Linked DNA regions of Homo sapiens: all the other regions are linked to region 1. The links are contacts of gene promoters, found by promoter capture Hi-C in blood cells and fetal thymus (Javierre and others, 2016). All regions are on one chromosome and are shown on one strand. The core of a region is centred on a gene start or on the middle of the fragment in contact, and the rest is flanking DNA. Distances in the headings are between cores, read along the strand shown.

Region 1 (2,700 bases), core at 38-2,537:
TAATTATATTCTCCATTTCTAGAAGTTTTTTCCCCAAATGTTCCAATTTCTTTCTAACAGTCTCTTGCTGCTCTTCTCTGAAATTGCATCTTGTTTTTTGTAAACAGTGTATACATTAGCTAATTTATCTATACATATTCTTATCTGTCAATTTCAGTATGTGCAGCCCATGAGAATTTAAGTTTTCTACTTGCTTTTGGTTGGTTTGTTTTGTTTTGCTATCATTTGTAGTCTATTCCTAAGCTTAATTTAACTTCATTTTGAAATCATTGTGCAATTTTATTTATGGTAGTCATGCCAGGATAAGTGAGAGAAGGTCTTCTTTTCTCCAAAGCTTAGTTTATTCATATTTAATGTAAATACAAAAATAGCCCCTCTTTTAAAGGATTGAAGGCTTGTGAAATTAAGATGAGAAAAAGATACTTAACATAGCGCTAGGAATATAATAAAAGCTCAATAAATGTTAGATTTCACTTTTAATTTCACTTTTAATTCTTAGATCAGTATGTTGATTTACTTAATTGTTTCCCACCTCCCTCATTAGAATATACACTCCATAAATCACACAAGTTTTGAAATTCTGTCTACCACTATATTCCCTCAAAGATCAAAAGAGAGCTTGTTGTATCTAGACATTCAGTAAATACTTGTTGGATAAATGAATGGGTGCCAGCAAACAGTAATGTGTTAAATGAAGAGATTATTCCTAAGAGCCTTTCATGTCAAGGGTAGTCAACATAATCTTCTGCATTCAAGGGTGTAATAACCATAAGTATAAAACAACAGCAACAGATTTGTGACATATTTGTGAAACTTGTCATACCTAGAGTTGAGCTTAAATTTTAATTAAAAATTAAATCGATCATTTAGAGTAAGTATCTACAGTGGCTAAATTTGTTTTTCATTTCTATATAGTATTTTCTGTACATATATAAATTGATTATAAATGACATAAATAATGATTTGATATTTTAAAAGATAAAGTCAAAATTTTTGTTTCTGTTTTGCATTACATTCTATAGGTATATGTTTGGCACTCCTCCTCCACAATTCAATTTATTAAATGCAAAATAGTCTCAGGAGGACATGTAAAATCCATGAAACAGAAACTTTCATTTGCATTTTAACAAATTATAGATAGGCATTCAGTCTGAACATACATTCTCCAGACTAGCTATGTTTTGTAGACATATTTGGAAAGGTCTTCATTAAGAAATTTCTGATTCCATCTCAAGCCATTACTGGGGCAATTTCAAGTCTTTATATAATGAAAGAGAAGAAAGTCACACTTCCGTCGAGCAGCCAATATATGCCTCATTCTGCAGCAGGTAATCTAAGATAGATGTAACAGAAGCAATATTAAGAATTAGCAGATATGCTACGTGTAGTGGAAGGCATCTTCATTTTTGTTGTAGTTAGTGAGTCAGTGTTTGGGGTTTTGGGGAATGGATTTATTGGACTTGTAAACTGCATTGACTGTGCCAAGAATAAGTTATCTACGATTGGCTTTATTCTCACCGGCTTAGCTATTTCAAGAATTTTTCTGATATGGATAATAATTACAGATGGATTTATACAGATATTCTCTCCAAATATATATGCCTCCGGTAACCTAATTGAATATATTAGTTACTTTTGGGTAATTGGTAATCAATCAAGTATGTGGTTTGCCACCAGCCTCAGCATCTTCTATTTCCTGAAGATAGCAAATTTTTCCAACTACATATTTCTCTGGTTGAAGAGCAGAACAAATATGGTTCTTCCCTTCATGATAGTATTCTTACTTATTTCATCGTTACTTAATTTTGCATACATTGCGAAGATTCTTAATGATTATAAAACGAAGAATGACACAGTCTGGGATCTCAACATGTATAAAAGTGAATACTTTATTAAACAGATTTTGCTAAATCTGGGAGTCATTTTCTTCTTTACACTATCCCTAATTACATGTATTTTTTTAATCATTTCCCTTTGGAGACACAACAGGCAGATGCAATCGAATGTGACAGGATTGAGAGACTCCAACACAGAAGCTCATGTGAAGGCAATGAAAGTTTTGATATCTTTCATCATCCTCTTTATCTTGTATTTTATAGGCATGGCCATAGAAATATCATGTTTTACTGTGCGAGAAAACAAACTGCTGCTTATGTTTGGAATGACAACCACAGCCATCTATCCCTGGGGTCACTCATTTATCTTAATTCTAGGAAACAGCAAGCTAAAGCAAGCCTCTTTGAGGGTACTGCAGCAATTGAAGTGCTGTGAGAAAAGGAAAAATCTCAGAGTCACATAGACACCTTGGGAAGAGATGGATGTTCCACGAAAGGAATCCAGTGAATAAATCCTTGAAGATCTGTTTCATTGCACTGCATTCTTGCATTGTCTTTTTAACTGTGTCATTAAAGATCACTGAAATCTTCCATAATTGTTTTGACTATGTTTCAGGGAATCTCAGTCTTTGAGGAGATTTTAATCTCACATGCAAATTCAGTGGCTTAGTCAGCTTCCCCACCCTGCAACTTCTTCCTACAAACTTCCTAGAGGAAGACCATCAGCCTGGAGACTATTCGCTGTAAAGATTATAACGGTGAGAATAAGCTCTAAAATAAAACTTCTTGTTGTGCTTTACCTGACTTTTCTGAAGCAAGGACACCCATTCTCCCAGAAAACCCAAAGGAAAAAAAAGAAAGAAAG
Region 2 (2,700 bases), core at 7-2,506, 480 kb before region 1:
TTTTTGGAAACACAACACGTATTATGAAATTACACAGACAAGAATGAAACAAAGATGGTAAGTACTATATCCTAATACTTAGAAGATTAAATAAAGGAAATCTCACCAAATTCATGGGGAAAAAAGCCAGATACATAAAGAAAAATACACATAATGGGCTTGACTCAGAAAATAAAATATGAACAAAGAAGAACCAGAAAGAAGGTGGGGAGGAATGCATATCAGAATATTATAGAAAAATACTCTTTGTGGAAGAACAATCTGAGAAAACAGGTAACACAAATACTGACTAAACCAAGAATACCAATATAATGCAATTTAGGCTTTAACGAGGGTATCTGATTATCCTATTTGAATGTAGAATTGTAGCCACTTAATTATAAGTGGTAGGAATTCAATACAATTATTAAAAGAAATGAAGCAGAGGGTGAATATTATAGAATATTCTGGACAAAGGGAAGAGCATGAAGGAAGTTTTGGCAACATGATATCGCATGGCTCCCGCAAGGAATTATGTATTCAGTTTTCTCAGATCTAGAAATTTCCTTATGGTTTCTGTGTACATTTTGCATTAATAACCCCTAAAGGTACTTTAAAATACACAATTTTGGCCTTCCTGTGTGGCACAACAACAAGCCTTGCCTGAGCTGAGTCAGATCCACAGAAGCTTGAACAATAGTTGTAGCCCGAGCAGGCTGTGGGGCAGCTTTCTGTCATCTATGTGTGCCCAGGAGTGTGTTGTCTTCACACCATCACACAGGTAACAGAAACCATCTCTATCGCATCAAAACTTTAGCCAATTGTGATACTATCTGTACACACACATCACAAGAGATGGAAATAGGCTCTATAAAGAGCCAGAGAAATTGACCATCTTCACTGCTGGCTGTAGCTTCACTGCCCCCACAAATATTACACAGAAATAAATAGTAGAGTGGAAAGCAGACATAGTCTTACCAAAAGGATTGAAACTCTAATGATGTCTGAAGTTCAATTATGACACAGTGCTGATAGCTTGGACACAGTTCCTTTAGAACCTTTATTCAAGTCATAGTCGTACCTTTTAGAAATAAGGCACAAACAACATCCAACCCACCCCATCCCTCTGGGCTAGAGTCCCAAAGAGAAATAAGGGATACACCTGACCTGCAGTAAGGAAAGCAGAACCCAGTCTCTGAGGTGGTGAGGCCCACCCAGGGCTCAAAGGTGCCATTGTTTTGCTCCTCTTTATAAAGGGAGTTGCCACGTTCCTCCCAGCACAGAGTTGGGAGTGACTCCAGAGCCTCCAGCGAGATGCTGCTGATTCTGCTGTCAGTGGCCCTGCTGGCCCTGAGCTCAGCTGAGAGTTCAAGTGAAGGTAAAACAGAAGGGGGAAAAGATGCGGTGACTGCTTGGGACTTAGGAGGTGACAGTGGTAATTATGGGGAAGAGAGGAGAATGAAAACACAGATGGGGCTGCAGAGTTTTCATGCCTAGGATCAGGAGACCTGTTGTGCCCTCATTCCACAATAAGGACTTCTAATTTATTTAATGTACAATGAAATCCAATAACGAATTTGTTCCAGGGGAATGAGAAGGTAAGATTTGAATTTATAGAGATAGAACTGTGCTGTGAAGGCTGCAGTGGAGAGTGCAAGGCAGATTCAGGGAAGTCCAGCTGTGAAGATCCTATACTGATCCCAGTAAGTACACAGGGATGATGGTGGCCTTGCTGTACAGACAGTCGGCATTGATGATAGAGATACATACACATCAGAGATACTGCAGAGACAGAACTGGATAGAACACTTGTCTCTGTCTAACTAAAGATGTAGAAATATCAGAGCCAATCATTACAATTTTTCTCTCCCCTACATGCAGTATTTCAATGTGCTGGGAGTGGAATGGGTTAGATTGTATTGAAATGATTACTTCTGGTTACCCCTATTGAGAAAACATGTGTATGTATGCAATATATTAACAGGAGATGGAGGGCATAAGAACACCAAAATATCACATTGAAGTACCTGGCATGCATAAACTAAATAAGCATTAAGTCTTGAGGGATGCTAGGGAGGAAAAAAAGGGGCTGTTCTATGTTGAACTCATTGCTGTTGCTCTGTGTGGTAACAACCCTGCCTCCTCTTACACCTTCCACCCCTTCCAGCACCTTCACAGATGGTGGCTGATGAGTTAACCTAGGGGATGCATGGGGTGTGGTGAGAAGACAATTTTCCCTGTAGAACACTTGTGAGTCTTGAAGATTTGAGATGTAACATTTCCCATCATCCTGTGCTTCTCTTCTAGATGTCAGCCAGGAAGAATCTCTCTTCCTAATATCAGGTAAATCCCAATTCATTCTCAATCTGTTTTGACTCCCTTTTTCTGCTTACAAATGGATCATTTCTCCAGTGTCTTCTTATCAACACTTTCCTTTCAGGAATTGATTAATGTTATTGCCCCTAATGATATAGGCAATCTTCATGCAAACTTGATTCTGGGGACCATGAGCAGGCCACCAAATGGAATGTCAGAGATGCTTGGCTTAGATGACAACAGGAGTGGGTTGACATCCCCCTGGCCAGGAGTGCCTCCTGGGAGATGACAGACAAATGGCCAGTGTCCTTATTCTGACTCCTCCTTAGACTGAGAGCCCCTCAACTTCTCCCTTTTCCCCCAGCGTTCCACTCCAGAGTTCTAGGGCTTCACTGAAAATGCAAA
Region 3 (2,700 bases), core at 183-2,682, 350 kb before region 1:
TGTGATTTTTTTCTCCCTCTTTTTGGCTGATGAAAAGTTGTACCCAACTTCCCTCACTAATAATATGAATGATCTCCATTTCTCTTTATTGTTCATTGATGCATGCCACTATTTTACAGTGGCTAAGTCCATATGCTTGGTGTTGAAAGCCATGGAGATGGTGAAGATTTTGTAATGTTCATTGCAGATCCCTAATCAGGATAGAAACTGGCAGGGATGTCCTGCAATTAAGCTACTAAGACTTCCATAGTTTCTTCATTTGTAGTAGGCTTTTGGGAAGGTCCTTGGGCCTTTTAGTTGTCCCAAGAGCACTGCTGAAATTTGTATTTGTGGAGAGTAGGGGTAAGGGGAGGTTTACTTATATTTTGAAAAGATCTCATGACTTGACCTGGTGGTAATCCTGCTGAGCAAATCCTATTAAGTCTAGTTTGTTCAGGCTGCTATAAAAAATACCATAAAATGGGTGCTTATGAACAACAGAAATTTATTTCTTATAGTTCTAGAAGCTGGGAAGTCCAAGATCCAGGCATTCACAAATTTGGTATCTGGTGAGGGTTCATTTCCTTGTTCATAGATGACTTTTCCCTATAACCTTACATGGCAAAAGGGGTAAGGGAATTATTTTGGGGTCTCCTTTATAAAGGCACTAATCCCATTCACGAGGGTTTCATCTTTATGACCTGATCACCTCCCAAAGGTCCCATCTCCTGAGATCATCACTTTGGGGGTTAAATGCCAACATGTGAATTTTTGGGGGGCACATTCAGACCATAGTACAAGTGTTAAAACTGCAAGAAGAATCCCCACACTCAAGGTAACCCAAGTAATAGACTAATATGAATCAATCCAACCCAATTGTTGGGAATTCTCATAGTTCTTGCAGAGGTTCTTTTCTTGGTTCATTTTCTTGGAACTTCCCAAGTCGTCTTTAGACTACTTTCCATGCTCAAACTTCCAAGTATTAGGATATTCCTTTCCCTCATCTTTTGTCCCTATATTCCTCAACTTTCATCCTACCCCTTTATGCTTCTGCATGTAACTTTATTTTCTTCTTGACGCTATCAAAAGCTATTGATGTCCTGCCAGAAAGATCTCCCATTAAAAGCAAACTGCAAGATTTTCTAACAAAATTTAGTTAGGGATCCTCAGGACAGGAACAGACATGGCTTCAAAATTTAACATTGTCTGATCTCTACTCTGGGTAGCACAGGAAAGTGTTTCCCTTCCATTCTGAGGACAACGTTCTTTCCTCTCTCTCCCTTTGCTCCCATATCCCTCAATCCCACCAACCCTCTAATAAAATAAGCCAATAGGTTTAAGGCTGCAGAGAGTATAAAATACTTGAACTTACATATCAAATCATGTTAAATATTTATATTTTAGTATGAAAGACCCTCAATAGTTATGTTAAAAAAAATAACTATTACCCAGGTAATATTTCTGTCCAGAAATTTGAGAAACAGAATTATTTGTAATTATCTACACATTTAAGAAAATTGAACTCCTTATGAAATATAACTTTAGGAATTACTGGAGATTCATTTGAGGTCTGGTTGGTTATCATGACCTTAGGAATTTACTTAACCTCTCTAAATCCCGGTTTGCTTCTCTGAAAAATGATAAAAATGTTTTCCTCACAGGGTATATGTGAGAATTACGGAGCTCATGTATATAAATAGTTTTTCATAGTTCCTGGTATTAAAAACTCAATATATTTTAAAAATGATGCTGATGGTAATGATATGCTATTTGTCAAGTAATCACATGTATTTTTACCCAGAATTAAAAAAAAAAAAACAACTTTTCCCCTATCCCTTAGGTTACATATGTTGCTATGTTCACTGTTTTCCTTTTATAGTTAAAATAAGCTGTAACGCATCGTTTCCCATTTTTTTTTTTGCCAGCTACATTTCTTATCTCTATTGATAATAACTATACCACCTATGTCTCTGCTTTTTCATGCTTGAGGGATCTCTGGATCAATCAACGTGCATGATGGCCTGAAAAAGCCCAATTTATGGGCAATAAAGTGAATCATCTTATTATCAGGAACGAATATATGTTTCCTTTATTGACTGCTGACTATGTAGAGCATACCAACAAAATTGCCATTCATCTATCCATTCAACAATATTTATTAGCTATTCCGCACTGGGCAGTGCTCTAGGCTTGGGGATAGAACAGTGAACAAACAAAATCCTTAGCCTAATGGATATTACCTGGAAGTGTGCCAGGAAGAATAAACTCACTTGTGAATTACAACAATAAGTGGTTTATTCAGGTCAAAATCTTGTTTTGTCTCCTGGGAATTTCACTGAATTGCATCATGTAGGAGGCAAACTATACCCCAAGAATTAAGAGCAATTGTGAATAAATGATAAACCACAGAGTTTACATTTACCTCCTAATACATTTAACTCCTAATATATATATATACATATATTACGAGGTAAATGTAAGCTGTAACTTTATGCATATATTGTAAGTAGTAACTATACATATATACTTATATACTGTATACATATATAGTAAGTAGTAACTATACATATATACATATATAGTTACTACTTAAATTTATATATGTGTATGTATATATATATGTATATATACAGTACACACACATACTGTTACTACCGGGTGTAAAATTGAATAGGATATAGTGTCTTCCCTCACAGAGCTGCCAATTATGTTGGAGGATGT
Region 4 (2,700 bases), core at 145-2,644, 390 kb before region 1:
GTTTCCTCATGTGCTTGGTAAAACTTAGTGTTGATGAGGGGTGTCCACACTAAATGGTATTGATAGCTGGAGCATGTATTCTCAGGCAAGAAGAGAAATCCTGTTTGCCTGTAAGTGAATATATTTCCTAATAGTAAAATTTCCTTTAAATGTGTTTGTAATGCAATATTTTTAAAAAACCTGTTATCGCTGGTGACAGAGCAGGAGTATTGCCATCTTGGACAAGCACTGTCATTTTAAGTTCACCTTGATCAAAAACTGCCTAAATCCAAAGGTCATCAGCCTTCTGGCTAAGGTCAGCATGACCATAAACCACAAATAATATCTCTGACCAAAAAAATTCCAAACCTCTCCCCTACCAGAGGCATGCCAGACCCGAGATAATCTCCCCTCCACCCAGAGACAGTCTGACCCCAACATAAACTTCTCCCCCACACAGAAACATTTCAAGCTTGTGATAAACCCCCTCACTCTAAAACCAATGTATACTCTGTTGCTGCTTCTGAATCCTATAACCCCAAAGGGCCTAGCAAGGCCAACATCTCTGCCATTGGCTCCTCAAAACTCTGTCTTCCTCTGCTTTTGAATGTTCCAGTTTGAGAGTAAAATTTAGGTTGAAGACATCTCCCCAACCTGTCTCCTGCTGGTGAGATATTCCTCTACAGTTTAAAGCCCCCTCACGAATGCCCACTCATTTCATTTTATTTTTGTACTTAAATAAAATCAACTTTATATGTATTTTTTAAAATATTTTAATATTTTCAGCTTTATTAGGGTATAAGTGATAAATAGAAATTGTATATATTTAGGGTGTGCAACTTCCTATTTTGATTTATGTATACATTGTGAAATGCTCACCATAATCTAGCTAGTTAACATAGCCATCGCTTCACATAGTGACCTTTTTTTTGTATATGTGTGGTGAGAACACTCAAGATCTGTCCTTTTGGCAATTTCAAGTATTCAATACAATATTTTAAATTATGGTCTCCATGCTGTACTCGCCTACTCATTTTAGGCATGGTCAGGTGATATATAAACTCAAACTATTTCTAAATGTGATCTATTTCCTTTTCTACCATCTTATGGGTAACTATTTGTTGGAATATAATGCCTTCAAATTCCTTTAATATTCCATTTGCTTTCACGTTCTCAGGTGGTTTTTTTTAAATACTTTCTTTAAATATGTTTATGGAGTTCTCCACAGTGAGAGATAGGAAGTTGATAAATTCTAGTTCTAATAAAAGAGGCTTTATTCAAACATATTTTGTCCAACTTTTCCCCACTGTGGGTAATGCCACTTAGGAATTATTCTATCAGAACAGCATCTGACCTAAACCTTGACCTCATATATTACTCCTGCCCCTTGCTAGCCTTAGTAGATCTCATTTTCATTGTTTCTTTTCTATGAGAGCTGACTCTTCAAATATCTTGATTATGTTTCTCTCTCACACTGGAAATACCTGCATCTTTACCTACAACATATATGTGAATCTGAAAATCACGTAATACTATTTCGGCTAATTTTCCTGGTTTTCTCTTCTCAAATATGTGCCCACTTTATATAACTAGTTCCTGGGGAGGGGTCTCTTCTGTTAGTTTTCTGTTATTTGTTTACTTTTTTGGATGTTAGTAGTCACCCTTTCCAATCTAGAAACAAAAACCTCTCTTTTTCAGTTTCTTCTTTCTGAGTAATTAGATGCAGATTCCTTTGATGTGTGCCTAGCCCGGCCTCCAGATTCTCATTTTTCCTGACATTGCTCTCTAGTAAATTCCTCAACCTTTCTCCTAAGAAAGTCTTTCTTCCACAACAGTAACCAGGCCTTCTTGTTTTCCCTTTATTCTCCCATGACTTCCATTCTTATAGTTACATTGAAGAGTACCAAAAAACAAACTAAAATAAAGCAAAAACCGAAAACCCGCCTTTTTCTCCCAGAGACAGTATTCCGAGAATGAAACTTTTTATATTTCTGATTTCCTTTTGAGTTAGTGGTAATTTAATTGAGTTGTTTCAGCCCAAGAAAATAACATACATACTGTATTTAATAAAAAACCCAATTATTTTAAGTGGGTGAAGGTATAGATGAGTAATTTAGGAGTATTAATATAATCAGTAAATTGGAGAGACCATTTGGTGAGTGTGACTCACAGTGTGACAAGGCATATGAATGTAAGAAGTTTCCTTTCATCGAGTTTCCTTCGCCCTGGAAACTGATGCAGGTTAAGTCCTAACGATGCAGGGACTAATGATTTAGGGATTAAAATCTTATGCATTGATAGTCTGTAGCCTAGCATCTAGCTGCCATCCCCCTGTTTTTATTTTCTTAAACAAGCTTTATTTTTAGAACAATTTTAAATTTATAGAAAAATTGTGGAGCTAGCACATGGAGTTCCCATGTGTCTTGCACTCAGTTTCTCCTATCCTACAATACCATGGTATATTTGTTACAATTAATGAACCAATTGTCACATTATTATTAATTAAAGTTCATATCTTATTCAGGTTCCTTTAGTCGTGCCTCATGTATTTTTCTGTCCCAGGACCCCATCCTGGACGGGGATTTATTTATTTTATTTAGATGTTGGGTCTCCTTAGGTTCCTCTTGGCTGTGACAGTTTCTCAGACTTTCCTTGCTTTTGATGACCTTGATGATTTAAAGAATACTGGTCAGGTATTTTGCAGCATGTCTCTTTGTGAAG
Region 5 (2,700 bases), core at 22-2,521, 370 kb before region 1:
CCTGCATATGAATGGGACCACTCTGTAGGGGCTAGCTCAGCAGCAGGAGGCCAGTAGGGAAGCTTCTACAATAATCTAGGTGAGACATGATGGTGGCTTGGGCCGCCACTATCCCAGCTGGTGATGGCAGTGATGATGGGGGCAGATTTCTCCTTTTGGTGCTGTTCTTGTGATAGAGTTCTCATGAGATCTGGTTGTTTAAAAGTGTGTGGCATCTTCCCCTTCTTTCTCTTCCTCCTGCTCTGGATATGTAAGATGTGCCTGCTGCCCCTTTGCCTTCTGCCATGACTGTAAGTTTCCTGAGGCCTCCCCAGCCATGCTTCCTGTACAGTCTGAGGAACCATAAGGCAATTTAACCTCTTTTCTTTATAAATTATTCAGTCTCAGGAATTTCTTTATAGCAGTGTGAGAGTGGATGAATACAGCATGCCACCATGTCTGGCTAATTTTTAAAATTTGTTATAGATGGGTTCTCACTGTGTTGGCCAGGCTGGTCTTGGACTCCTGGCTCCAAGCAGTCCTCCTGCCTTGGCCTCCCAAAGCACTGGGATCACAGGCATGAGCAACTGCACTTAGTAACACTAGTTTTCTTGATCTTGTTGGATTGGCTTGGTTGGCAAAAATTATTTCCTTTCCCATTATATGATTAACTGTTATGTTTAATTTCCAAAGTTAATATAGTATTACATATTTGTTTTATCATTATGGTAATTTTAAGAGATACCTTTAAAGATTTCCTGGAATTCCATGCATATATATCCATTTCCTGAAACTCTGTATCTCAGTTCCCTTATGTGTAAGATGGAGACAATGATGATACCTATTACTAGGACTATTGTGAGGATTAAATGAAATAAGACATGTAGAGTGATTGAACAGTGTTTTGCTCACAGAGTTCAATAAACGTCAACTCTTGTTTGTATTTTTATTACTGTGAGAGATGTAATGTATCTGAAATTAGCTTAGATCATGCAATTATCTTACAGCAACAATCCTAATGACTACTCTATATACTGCTGTGGCCTTAATGTAGAATGAAAGGTAGAAACAAAATTTTAATAATATGGCAGGTATAAGGTAAATGGGGCATCAGATATTAGGGTGAATAGAGATAAAAGCTGTTTGTCTCAAGCACAAATGATAAAGAAGCATATTGCTTATAAAGGACTTAAAACTGTAATGCAATCAATGAAAAGTTAGTCTACTTTTTATTATTATGACAGATTTGCAAGTCAGTGATAGAATACTTCTCTTATTGAGAGAAGACGGTTCCTATCTCCTTCTCTTTTGTTATGCAACATGTACAGGGCATAGAAGACATCTTTTGCCACCTAAGTTTGCCTACAGCTATTATCGGATATGATCCTCTTTATATGAGACTTTAAACTGTGCCTAATACAGCACATGGTATGGCAGGGGTTCAGTCTATATTTAAAAATTGATGTCTTTTTTCTTGAACCCAGGTAAACATTGAAAAATATTTATCTGCATAACTCACTACATAATAAATATTACACTGCTCCAATTCATAAATCATTTCCAAAGGACTCTTAGTCTGTTGCATATTCCTTACTGATGGTGATAAAAATTATTCAGTTTATTCATTTATATTTCTAACATTAGAAGTTCGATGCATAGTCTTTGTATTAGACTACTGCTAAAGACTCAGTAAATCATCTTGAGACATCTACATCATTTGGAGATGGGGCATGCAAAATTTAGAAAACTACTTGTCTTCAATTTGCATCTTTAGTAAAGAGAAACATATTTTAGTCACAATCTAATGTGGAAATCACAATCTAAGGGCATATTGGAAGATCATATGTAGAACTTGGGTTGAAAACTATGTCGAATTTTAGGGACAGGAGTACTTCCTGATTGAGGATTCAGAGATAAGAGTGATGGGTAGGAGACATTTATGAATACCAAATAACAGATGTATGTATTAACTACAATAAACGATTGGTGAATCGATGTTTGATTATTCAGAACTTACATTGCAAATTCAAGTGGGGCGTTCTTTCTGGAGCTATGACAAAGGCAGTGTAAAGTATCTCTACGACTGTAACCATGGTGGAATTCACAATAAGAATTTCAGGGACTGGCCGGGTGCAGTGGCTCATGCCTGTAATCCCAGCACTTTGGGAGGCTGAGGTGGGAGGAACACTTGAGGTCAGGAGTTTTCGCCAACATGGTGAAAACCCGTCTCTACTAAGAATACAAAAATTAGTGGGCATGGTGGCGCAGGCCTGTAATCCCTGCTATTTGGGACGCTGAGGCAGGAGAATCGTTTGAACCCAGGAGGCAGAGGTTGCTGTGAGCTGAGATTGTGCCACTGCACTCCAGACTAGGTGATAGAGTGAGACTCTGTCTCAAATAAAGAAAAAAAATATTCATGGACTGGATGGATTTAATTGGCAAACTTAATTGACTGGGCTGAGAACCAGATTTGTTTGATGGATTTCATCCTCTCAAGCTTGGCCATATGCAGAACACTTTTGCTCGGGTGTTGCTATTAGATGTACTTATAATGACTATCCAAATATAGATGCCGTTAATCATAACCTAATTAAAATTATAACAATATTTGACATTCTCAGATTAGTTTCAAAGCAGTTAGGTATCTGGTTAGCCTCATATCTCAGTATTTTTTATTTGCTTAAAGTAGCACTTTTCCACCATGCAATTTTCCTCTGGCTG

Evidence for each region. Contacts are between HindIII fragments. The CHiCAGO score rates a contact against its expected background, and 5 or more counts as called.
Region 2: a contact is called between the fragment with the promoter of PRB4 here and the fragment with the promoter of TAS2R10 in region 1, in 12 of 17 cell types (total CD4 T cells, M1 macrophages, naive CD4 T cells and 9 more). The highest score is 13.1, in total CD4 T cells.
Region 3: a contact is called between a fragment that was not itself captured here and the fragment with the promoter of TAS2R10 in region 1, in 2 of 17 cell types (M2 macrophages and M1 macrophages). The highest score is 6.7, in M2 macrophages.
Region 4: a fragment that was not itself captured here is called in contact with the fragment with the promoter of TAS2R10 in region 1 in 7 of 17 cell types (M1 macrophages, M2 macrophages, erythroblasts and 4 more); the score reaches 6.7 in M1 macrophages.
Region 5: a fragment that was not itself captured here is called in contact with the fragment with the promoter of TAS2R10 in region 1 in 1 of 17 cell types (M2 macrophages); the score reaches 5.3 in M2 macrophages.

Annotation. Positions count from the first base shown.
Region 1 is chr12:10,824,945-10,827,644 of GRCh38, reverse strand. It overlaps TAS2R10 (taste 2 receptor member 10), which reads left to right and starts at 1,287. Exons shown (of 1, transcript NM_023921.2): 1 at 1,287-2,426. The coding sequence starts at 1,376. The coding sequence ends at 2,299. The HindIII fragment of the contact is 6,023 bases long and covers 337-2,700 here.
Region 2 is chr12:11,308,992-11,311,691 of GRCh38, reverse strand. It overlaps PRB4 (proline rich protein BstNI subfamily 4), which reads left to right and starts at 1,256. Exons shown (of 4, transcript NM_002723.6): 1 at 1,256-1,357; 2 at 2,287-2,322. The coding sequence starts at 1,294. The HindIII fragment of the contact is 5,809 bases long and covers 670-2,700 here.
Region 3 is chr12:11,173,781-11,176,480 of GRCh38, reverse strand. It overlaps SMIM10L1 (small integral membrane protein 10 like 1), which reads right to left. Exons shown (of 1, transcript NM_001271592.2): 1 at 465-2,700. Among named protein-coding and RNA genes, the nearest start is that of PRH1-PRR4, 3.5 kb to the right of the region's middle. The HindIII fragment of the contact is 3,407 bases long and covers 1-2,700 here.
Region 4 is chr12:11,215,332-11,218,031 of GRCh38, reverse strand. All of the region lies in intron 1 of LOC107987435 (a long non-coding RNA gene), which reads right to left. Among named protein-coding and RNA genes, the nearest start is that of TAS2R42, 30 kb to the right of the region's middle. The HindIII fragment of the contact is 1,882 bases long and covers 454-2,335 here.
Region 5 is chr12:11,196,624-11,199,323 of GRCh38, reverse strand. The region is part of intron 1 of LOC107987435 (a long non-coding RNA gene); the gene reads right to left. It also overlaps the pseudogene LOC100420583. Among named protein-coding and RNA genes, the nearest start is that of TAS2R42, 11 kb to the right of the region's middle. The HindIII fragment of the contact is 2,414 bases long and covers 65-2,478 here.